Linked DNA regions of Homo sapiens: region 2 is linked to region 1. Evidence: promoter capture Hi-C in 16 types of primary human blood cells and fetal thymus (Javierre and others, 2016). All regions are on one chromosome and are shown on one strand. Each heading gives the region's core, a stretch centred on a gene start or on the middle of the fragment in contact. The rest is flanking DNA. Distances are from core to core; before and after follow the strand shown. Region 1 holds the start of HTR3A (5-hydroxytryptamine receptor 3A). Region 2 overlaps HTR3B (5-hydroxytryptamine receptor 3B).

What was found. Contacts are between HindIII fragments. The CHiCAGO score rates a contact against its expected background, and 5 or more counts as called.
Region 2: a fragment that was not itself captured here is called in contact with the fragment with the promoter of HTR3A in region 1 in 1 of 17 cell types (total B cells); the score reaches 5.4 in total B cells.

What each region holds. Positions count from the first base shown.
Region 1 is chr11:113,972,996-113,978,167 of GRCh38, reverse strand. HTR3A (5-hydroxytryptamine receptor 3A) reads right to left here and starts at 3,060. Exons shown (of 9, transcript NM_000869.6): 1 at 2,776-3,060; 2 at 246-397. The coding sequence starts at 2,842. RefSeq lists enhancers at 2,176-2,835, 2,836-3,497. The HindIII fragment of the contact is 9,568 bases long and covers 1-5,172 here.
Region 2 is chr11:113,931,234-113,936,391 of GRCh38, reverse strand. HTR3B (5-hydroxytryptamine receptor 3B) reads right to left here. Exons shown (of 9, transcript NM_006028.5): 3 at 4,964-5,008; 4 at 4,525-4,634; 5 at 3,934-4,103; 6 at 3,299-3,456. Among named protein-coding and RNA genes, the nearest start is that of HTR3B, 29 kb to the right of the region's middle. The HindIII fragment of the contact is 3,666 bases long and covers 1,697-5,158 here.

The DNA.
Region 1 (5,172 bases), core at 1,811-4,310:
ACCACATGTGGGAAGTGACCCCCTCACTGTATGGGTGTGGGAGCAGCAGCCACAAGGTGACCCCAGGTTTCTGGTTTGGGCAGCTGTGCAGATGATGCTACAATCCATCCTGAGCTGTGGTGCCAGACCGTAGGTCCTATGGGTTCTCAAATGCCTAACAAGCTGCATAGGGGGTGACTTGTCTCACATGGCCTTCTCCCACCCCCAAAAGGTCTGCCTGTGTGCAGCTCGGGGCTGAGCCTCACCACGTTGAGGATGGCATAGACAATGACGTCAATGGATACGGTGGTTGGCTTCCTCCAGTCCCTCACGGGGCGCACACCCTTCCTGTAGTTGGTCAAAAGGTAATCCGACAGCCTCAGCAGAGCGGGCCTGGTGGTGTTTCGGCTCCTCCTGGCTGGGAAGGAGAACAGTTCAAAGTAGACACCAGCCCCCCAAGACTTCCCCCGGTTCTCTTGTCCTGGTTTGTAAGCTGTTAAAAGAGACGTATCCCCACCATCCCCACCTCACAAAATTCTAAACACAGACTGACATTCTCACCACTAGAGCATTTTGTCTGCAGAGATTTCTACCATAATTCAAATGTATTACCTTGTAGAAAGGACCTATGCATTCATTGACAGGAAAGCAGAGATCTGGCTTGGAAGAGCAAGTGGCACAAGACAGCTGAGATTCAAATCAGGTTGAGGGCTAAGAAGGTCGGAGCAGGTGGCCCACGGGGCCTAAGCGAGGGCCTCTGGGGAGCAACAAGGAAGCTGGCTCTCAGGGTATGATACTAAAAGCAAGAGGGTTGCAAGAAAGCATGACCCCAAGTGCACAATTTCTAAGCCCAAGGGTCTGCATCAGGGTTTTCCTCAGCCAAGGTCAAACCTCAGCATCTGCACACAACATCTCCTTTTTGAGTATGAAACAGGTAAAGAAAGAAGGAAGTGTGGGCATCTGGTGAAAACTGACATTTCCTCTACATCCTGCAAAAGCCACCCCAAGAGGATCCTCGCACCCTGCCCCAGGCACACACAAGCTATGGGTGGAGGGCTGGCCCAGTCCACCTCCTAGGGTTGCTGTATGGGCAAACATGATGGGCTTAGATAGGTGGTTGGGGCGAGGTGTGGAGGGAGTGAGAAGAAATCAAACGACTTCCGGGGTAGGTGGCCTATGGGGACAAACCAGTAATGAGACAGCCCAGCTCCTGGACCCTGGTGCTGTTCTATGAAGATTTCATGCACAGCTCAGTTTTCACACTGGAAGCAGCAGGAGCACTTCCAGAAGGGTGGCCTGACATGCAAAAGTGAAAATTCATGGGACGGTGAAGGGAGTACAACCTAGAGGGCCAGCATACGGGCAGCAAAGGGGAGATGGAGCTGGCAGGTAGCCAGGGTCTTTCACTAACCAGGTGCTGGCAAGGCCTGGCTTTTGCTAAACAAGACTGTGTCTTCTCTCATCTAGTGTGCAACCTGTACAACAAATCACTCCTGCAGATTCCCCCTCCTTTCACCCCCTTTTCCCTGATAAGCTACTGGCTTCCCTCAGAAGGACAGAGAAGAGCAGAGAGAACACACACACACACACACACACACACACACACACACACACACAAACTATTTTTTAAGTGTCTCCTTTGGAATAACATCAATAAACATATTCTTCATTTAACTTTAGAACAGTCCACCAGAGTGGCTATTTGCACACAAGGATCCCCAAGCACCAGAAAGGTGAGCACCTTGCTCTGCAAGTGGAGGAACTGAGATTCAAACGCAGACCCGTGTGCGTCTTTACTACACCAGCAAGAGCCTGGGTCCTATTGACTGGGATCCTGACCAGCTTGGAGAGCACTGAACTCATCCCAGCAGGCCCGGGGCAAAGGACCATTGCTAGGAGGGACAGAGTTTCTTCTCAGTCAAGGAAGCCCTCGACCACAGTCATCACTTACAGCTTGCGTTTGCTTAACCCACGGAGCACTCCCAAACGACCGCTCCCGGGAGGAAGGACATCTTACCCAGAGCTCTTCACGTCTGTCCAACCCCTGGATGGCTTCCTCTAATTGTGCCCCAGTATGCTCCACCCCAGCTCTGTAGGGAGAGAAACCTCCTAGAGGGGAATGAACATGGTCTGCAGCAAAAGGAAGCCGGTCCCTTTGTGGCTAAAACACCCTACATTCAAGGGAGTCAGGAGAAGATGGGTGTAGCGAATGTGGAGAGAAATTGGGCGTTACTGGAGTTTAGTCCTGGAAAGGAACTTGGGGAACCGCAGGCCCAGAGAACGAACTCATGCAACAAAACCAGTGAAGCTGAGGAAAGAGGACTAGACTAGTTCTGGTCCCCACTCTGCTGCTAACAAGCTGTGTGACCTTGAATGAATTATCCGCTCCCCACTCTCTGGGCCACAGCATTCCCATTTATAACAGGCAAGGGTGGACCCAATGAGTTCTAAGGTCCCTTGCAGCTTTCATTCAAATAGTTTAGGGAAAGGACAAAAAGGAGAGGAGCCCCCTCCTGGTGCCTGTCTTTTTATTTCTGATACGCCAGGCTACTTCTCTGCTCCCTTCTTTGCAAGCTCCGCTCTTGCCCCACCCCAGGACTCAACATTCCTAACTCTCTCTAGCTTAACCATGATGCCTCAAATGCTGTCATGCTCATAGGTGGTAAGATAGCTGACCTTCCTGCAGCTGCACTGTTCCCCACCCTCCTCTCCACAGCCCTCGGAGGACTGAAGCATCCCCTGCCCCACCTCAGCAGATGGTCAGCCAAGTCCTGCTGCTTCCCGAAGTCTGCTTACCTTCTCCCTGTGCCAGGAGTGTGGGGAGGAGCAAGGCGAGCAGCGCCTGCTGGACCCACAGCAGCATAGCGAGCTTTCCAAGCATAGGAGTGCCTCCGAGTGCTCAGGACGAGGCCCACCAAGGGCCAGCTTGCCTGCCCTCTGCCAACCTCATGTCCCAGCCAGCCTGCCTCTCGTGGCCACTGCTCACACCTTCTGAGGCTGCAGCCTCACACTCCCTGGGCCACCAAGGTTGGGGAGCTGCCAAGTTTTCCTGCAATCAGTCCTTCAGCTGGATCATGTTTCAGGCGGGAGGAAAGGGGAGGGGACAGCTGAGAGGGGAGCCCGCCCTAGCTGATGTCATGCTGTGGGAGCTCAGTCCACCCATTCAGCCAGGGGGCTTGGCCATGTTTCCCCAAGGAGTAACTTAGGTGGGGACAGGGGCTGCAGAAGCCCATGAGACAAGGGTGCAGCCTGACCCCTGGGAGGTGCACCACGCTGCTGCTTTCATTGATGTCCCTTGGCAAGTATGTTTCTGTGGCACTGGGCTGGGGCAGGATAGGGTGAGTCAGGCAGGAGCAGGAAGACCATTCTTTTACTCCCCAGGGTGACATAACCAAGCAGGTGACTGGGCACCTCTGTAGTTACGGGAAGGGTAACTGGAGTCACCACAGGTCTGCCCTTTTGTCCTCATCTAATTAGTTATACTTAAATAGTAAAATATATATTAAAAATAATAAAATATATAATAAAAATAAACTTTTACTATACATATTTATTTCATGCATTCTTGCCATACATAATAAATACATATAGTAAAAATAATAATAATACATGCACTTTGTAGAAAAATATGAAGAAAAATTAAAATCATCTGTAAACTTATGACTCAGAGACAGCCACTCTTAACGTTTTGGTATATATTCTTCCATAATTTTCTTCAGTAATGTGTATACAATGAAGTAAATATCACATACATATAATTTTGTGCCCTCTTTTTTTGCTTGATATCATTTCGTAAGCATTTCTTTTCTTTTCTTTCTTTCTTTTTTTTTTTTTTTTTGAGACAGAGTCTCGCTCTGTCACCCAGGCTAGAGTGCAGTGGCGCAATCACTGCTCACTGCAGCCCCAACCTCCCCCATCTCAGCTGATCCTCCCATCTCAGCCTCTTGAAGAGCTGGGACTACAAATGCGAGCCATGCCTGGCTAATTTTTGTATTTTTGGTAGTCCCCCAAAGGGACTAGAGGCATGAGCAATCACACCTGGCCTCGGAAGCATTTTCAATACCTTCCTCTTAAATGGAAGCGTCTTTCTTGAAAGAAGTGTTTCTTTCTTCATTGCAAGTTAAATAGACAAGTATCTATCCCTCAGGCCTCAGCTGTGTACCCCTAAAGTTGCCTGCAAGAAGAATTACTGTGCATTTTTATTTGAAGGAGTCCTACCCTAGCTCACCATTTGGGTAGATGTCCCCGTACCAATCAAGTTAAGTATCAACAACAAAACATTTTCTTCCTTTTTAATTTATTTTCCACTTGACTCTAAGTGTGGAATAGGCTAGGAACCCTGCAGTAAGGAGGAATTTTCTGAATTGTAGGTAAGTTAAAAAGAAAGAAAAAAAGAAAGAAACTACCTTGGTCAGGGCTGCATCCTTTCAGTTCTTATTCCTGTGCATTATGAAATCTGCATAAAGCATTATACCATTCACCATTGGGGTCCTTTCCTGTGGCCGTTAGCGGGGTGTGGTTCTGCAACGTGCAGTCAAGTTCAGGGAGCCTGGGCTACTCTTCTCTTAAGTCATGTGCTTCATCACTGCACAATCCAGAAAAACATGGACAATTAGCTCCAAGCATTTCCCTCAGGGGAATGGATATGAGGGCAGTGAATAGAAAGAGGGCCCCAAACTTTTAGAGAATTTATAGAGCCAGACCTCCCCAGAATTCCAGAATGAATGTCCTCAGACCTGAGGTTTGACAGCAGGATAAAGCAAGGCAAGAAGAACCAGGCTGCCTCCTAGGCCACCAGGCTGAGGTCTTGAATGGGGCCCAAGCAGAACACTATAGATTCCTAAATGCATCTTCAAGCCCAACAAAGATTCTTTTTTCTTTTTTTTTTTTTTTTGAAACAGGATCTCACTCCATCACCCAGGCTAGAGTGCAGTAGCATGATCACAGCTCACTGCAACCTCAATCTCCCTGGCTTAGGTGATCCCTCCACCTCAGCCTCCCAAGTAGCTGAGACTACAGGGGCATGCTATCATGCCTGGCTAATTTTTGTATTTTTAGTAGAGACAGGGTTTTGCCATGTTGCCCAGGCTGGTCTCAAATTCCTGGGCTCAAGCAATCTGCCCGCCTCGGCCTCCCAGAGTGCTGGGATTACAGGCATGAGCCACTGTGCCTGGCCAACAAAGTATTTAAGCT
Region 2 (5,158 bases), core at 2,280-4,779, 42 kb after region 1:
GCTTTGCATTTTCTAGGACACCCTGTGCGCACCCCAATTCCTGCCCGAATAAACACTTTACTTGGTGTGAGGATATCTGTGGTTGGGCTCGGTTTAGTTTCCACAGCTGTCCACCCTTTTCCATCCAACACGAGTTCCTAAATTGTATTCCTACCTCCTCCCACTTCTACCCTCATTCTTTAAAGAAAAAAAAGAAAAAAACCACTGCCATGCAAAATCAAATGCTCTCACCCTGCTGTTTCTGGGAACCAGCACCTCCAATAATATATTGGAGGAAACCTCCCCTCCCATGGCTGCTGGGCCGGGTCCCAGGCTGTACACAGACATCTTTGTAGGGAGAAGTGCCTATGCTCTGGGCCCCCTGTGGAATGTAGCCTGACTCCAAAGTATCCGTGGTGTCCTCTGATAAACAATTTGTGTCCCAGAGTCGGCAGCTATGATTGCACATTAGCTGAAACTCATGGGGCATCCGGAGCACTTGATTTAGTATAAATGGCAGCAGTGTACCTCAGGCCAAGGGCAAGGATGAATTTAGAATAGATTATTGCTTCTCCTGACTTCCCTACCCGTCCCCAACCTCCCGCTGGGCAGCCTGGACTGAGACACAGCCGGCGAGTAGATTAAGAGGAGATGGTCCTTTGCTGTCAGGACCCTGGCAGGCCCAGTGTTGGCATAATAGAATCAGGCTCTGAATTTCACATCACTGGCCAAGGGCTGTTGAAGGAAAGCCAGGTGCCTTGGTTGCTAAATTCAGAGTGGGATGTCTGGTATGGAGTAAGAGAATGAGCCTAGGCTCTGTGCACAGAGCAGAAATGCATGGAGGCTGAGCGAGGTTGGGAGGCAGAAAACTGTGATCGTCACTGAATCCACTTTTAGTCTTTCTAAAGCTGCAGAATTGCTCCTGAGTCTGGCCTCCTGTCCCACCAAATATGATCTGTGACTCTACTCAGGATTCTCTCCCTACTCTGCTCCTGAGGACCAGGGCAGAGGCCAGCCCTGCTAGATAACCCACGTCCACCCCCGGGGCAAAAGGACCCATGGAAAAGTTCCAAGAGCATGAAATCAAATTGCACCTGCCTCCAGCACACTTCCACTTCAAAACGTACCCGGGGGGAAGCATGGCAGTGAGGAGAGCAGAGGAACTGGACCATGGCTCTGAGATCCAGGGAAGCCTCCCCTCCATTAGACAATCTTCTGTCTCTGTTCATCATAATTAAAATGGAGATGGTATATAGAAAACCTTCAGCTGCTGTTGACGAATTAACATTTAGGGTGAAGGAAAGTGACATGTAACTACAAATAATAGCTGCTCTATGGAGAGAGAGAGAGTGTGTGTGTGTGTGTGTGTGCACATGTGTGCCTGTGTATGCAAGCACACGCCCTTGTTTACCTGCCCCATCTCTTTCCTGTGTTTGTCTCCTCCGTGCAGTGTAGGTAATGGTGTGTGCAGTGTTCTCAGGAGCACTTGGTAGGTGACTATGTTCCACCTTGCATGTGCTACTCCTTCACATTTCCCTTTAATGCTCTCCATTATTCGGGCTGCATTAATAATGTTTGTGGGCTGATATCTTTAAAATTAATGAGGTGTTTACTCCTAGCCAAGAAACTCATTGAAATTTAAAAAAAAAAAAAGCTTGCTTGCTTTCCTTCCCTTTTCCTTACAAGAAAAGTGGACAAACAGGCCACAATGCAAGCTTTGCTTAAAACCAAGCAGGATTCTAGGCAAGAGCCCAAAGCCCACCATCAGGAGGGTATGAGTTGCGATTATACTAGCCAGCATTATACATTAGTCAGGTTCAAACCACAACTGTGTCTAAGAGGCCCAGATTTAACAAGAGCTTTGCTGGAAAGCTGTATACACCTTTAACCAATTAAGGGATACCTGTAACCTCAATAATAGTTTCTTTCTTTCTTTCTTTTTTCTTTCTTTCTTTCCTTCTTTCTTTTTTCTTTCTTTCTTTCCTTCTTTCTTTCTTTCTTTTTTTCTTTCTTTCCTTCTTTCTTCTTCCATCCTTCCTTCCTTCCTTTCTTTTCTTTTGACAGAGTCTCCCTGTGTCACCCAGGCTGGAGCGCAGTGGTATGATCTTGGCTCACTGCAACCTCCACCTCCCGGCTTCAAGCGATTCTCATGCACACACCACTACACCCAGCAAGTTTTTGTATTTTTAGTAAAGATGGGGTTTTGCCATGTTGGCCAGACTAGTCTCGAACTCCTGACCTCAAATGATCTGCCTGCCTTGGCCTCCCAGAGTTCTGGGATTACAGGCATGAGCCACCGCACTCAGCGAATGATAGTTTATTTCTTCACCTCCCCTTAGCATATCCATTGTACCAGAGCACCTTAGTCTAGTCTAAGTTTTCCTTCTTATTCCAAAGGTATATTTTTAGGATAATTCATCTTGTGTGCAGTCCTGACCTGCCTGTGGTTTCTATTTTTCAACTGAATCCATTACTTGGCATGAAGGACCACCATTCCCTCACTACCACCACCACTAGCTGACTTTTTGCAGAAAAGAAGAATGCACTGCTGAATACTAATGATGTAGTTTACCAGTTGTGTGAAATTGTTGCAGACCATGTGTCAAAACAGTTTCCCAGGGGGCCAAAGATGGGACAATGGCTGCCTCTGGAGTACAAATCAGCGGGCTTCACTGTCCTGTACCCCACCATCCCCTAGTTTCATGCCGGACAAATTTCCCTATGAACAATGCAGCCAAGGGCTGCATCGGAGGAGTGTGGGTTCCCATCATAATTTTGAGGGGGTTAATTGTTCCCTCTGATCCAGAAGCTACCAGTGGTCTCTGTGGGTCTTATTGGCTAATCCCTTAAGATATTCAAGTTAATAATATTATCGTATTATGCATCTGCATCTGGAATTAGTTGATAATTTACTCAATAAAAAAAAAATAGGACAATAATGTTGATGAGAAAGTCTTCCCAATTTGTTGTTGTTGTGTGTGGGTTTGTCTGTGTTTTTTCTGAGTAGCAATTAGAAGCCATAATGTAAGTGTGTGTGGAAAGATTGGAGGATTCCTGCTGCAGGGCATGCTTCAGGCCTCTGGTGTCTGAATACCAGGCCTCTGGTGTCTGTTATCTTCTGGAGGGGCCCAGCATCTCCCACTGAACCTCTGCTCTGTGAAATGCTGGAATGCAGGTGGATGCTCAGAGCCCGCTGAAGTCCCTGTTCTTGGGTGATAATGAATGAGAACATGCAATAGAGCAGAAATTCCTTGGCCCAAGAGAGAAGGCCAAAGGCTGGGGAGAAGCGGGCAACGGGGACAGGTAGTAAAGAACCTACATTAAACTGAATCTGTGCAAATCCTCCAGCGCTGCTCTGCAGGATGCTGTATGTGGAGGACACAGATAGAAGTTCCCACTCACTGTCATTCAAAAACGCCTTTTTGTCATGCTGAATGTCTTCTGGGCTCCTCAGAAAGGCCAGGTCTACGTCTTCCACTGCAAACAACACAAACAATTGACTTTCCCAGAGAGAAAGAGATGCCAACATCCACCCACTTTTCCAGCTCCCAATTCGAATCCTTCCTCGTTCTCCTGCCCCCATAGGCACAGTCTCCTTGGCCTTATTTGAATTAGGGGGTAGGGATGTGGAATAAAATCTTTCTAGTCATAAAAAAACAACAACTGTGAATTTATGGCTTGGAATACACTCTCTGTAGAATGATGGAGCTTGCCTGCGATTTCTATAATATTATCCATGGCAGTAGAGGCCTAACACTGTTTCCAAAACAACTATGGGGGCCTACAGCATCATACTTGGTCTGGATTACAGCAGGAGCCAAAAAACCGCAAGAAGAGATTCCAATTTTTAAATAGCCAATTATCTGCAAGAATAAAATAGACCTGAAGGATAGTATAATATCATTTCACCTATGTGCACCAACCTAGCATTAATGGGTATCTCTCATGGTTTACCTGTATGCAGAATGCTCTTGAAGGTCAGGCTGCAATTCTGGACATCAAATGGAAAAGCATATGTCTCTAAACTGCACGCAGAGACCACCTGGATGGGCTTATAGTTCTCAATGGTCCCAGATGAGTTCACATAAACATAGGGAAGGTCAGGGTATCTTTCAATGTCCACACTATATGAAACACAAGAGAACTTGTTGTCACAGAGAGGATGTTGGTCATTTCAAAACATAGGCTGATTAGGAGATGGTAGTGACCATGAGGTCCAGGACCAGCCTAGCCCTGCAAAACAGAATCGCATTTTCCATGAGATGATTCACCCTGGCAAAGATGAGCTTTTCAGTGACAGCCTCGTAAGTTAACTCATTTGCTGCTATAACAACACAGACATAATGAGTAACCTCAACATTAGTAACCAGATCTGTATCTTAAATAATGTCAACACATGGCACTTCTAACCTGAATACTCCCAACAATATGCTCCCCTTCAACTTGAGAAGCAAAAATGAGCAACACTGACTGAAAGTAAGCAGCAACTGGCCCGACTATACCAAGCAGTCTAAACCCCACAGAAATACACACTGGCACACTTACAACTCATTGATGATGATATCGGGGGCCCAGATGGCACTTAGAGGTAGGGAGATCTCTCTAATCTCATCAAACATGCTGGAGTTCCAGGATAAAAATTCATCATTCCAGACCTGTTAGTAGTAGCCAAAAAGAAAACTTATCAAAATGGGGCAATATCTACTTCGCTAAAGAACTAAAGAGGCATTTGGATTAATAATCCAATTTATCAGCCTCTTGGTTCTACCTGTTAGGAGAAAGGACTTCCCATCTGAATCCTAAAGATGGTAGTCCCAACCAGAAACCAGGGCCATACATCTTAAATGAATTATAATACATTAGGTCTGCTGCAGATCTAAGAAACTATAAATACAAAGATAATACCTATTTCTTAAATAACTATATTTTGCAGCAGATCCAGATCAGGAGTGCAATATATTTAGAAGAAAACATAATTATTTACCTCTTGGTACCATACACTTGTCTTTAATATTTGATTCTCTGCATCCTGCAAGGCAAAAAGAAAATCCACTCCAAATCTTAGAATGTCAATAAATCAAAGGCCAATTCAGCAGTAAGGAAATTCAGAAGAAGAAAATCAAATCTAACCAAATAATGCTGATATTAAAAACATTACCTAGACTCTTCAATACCTAGG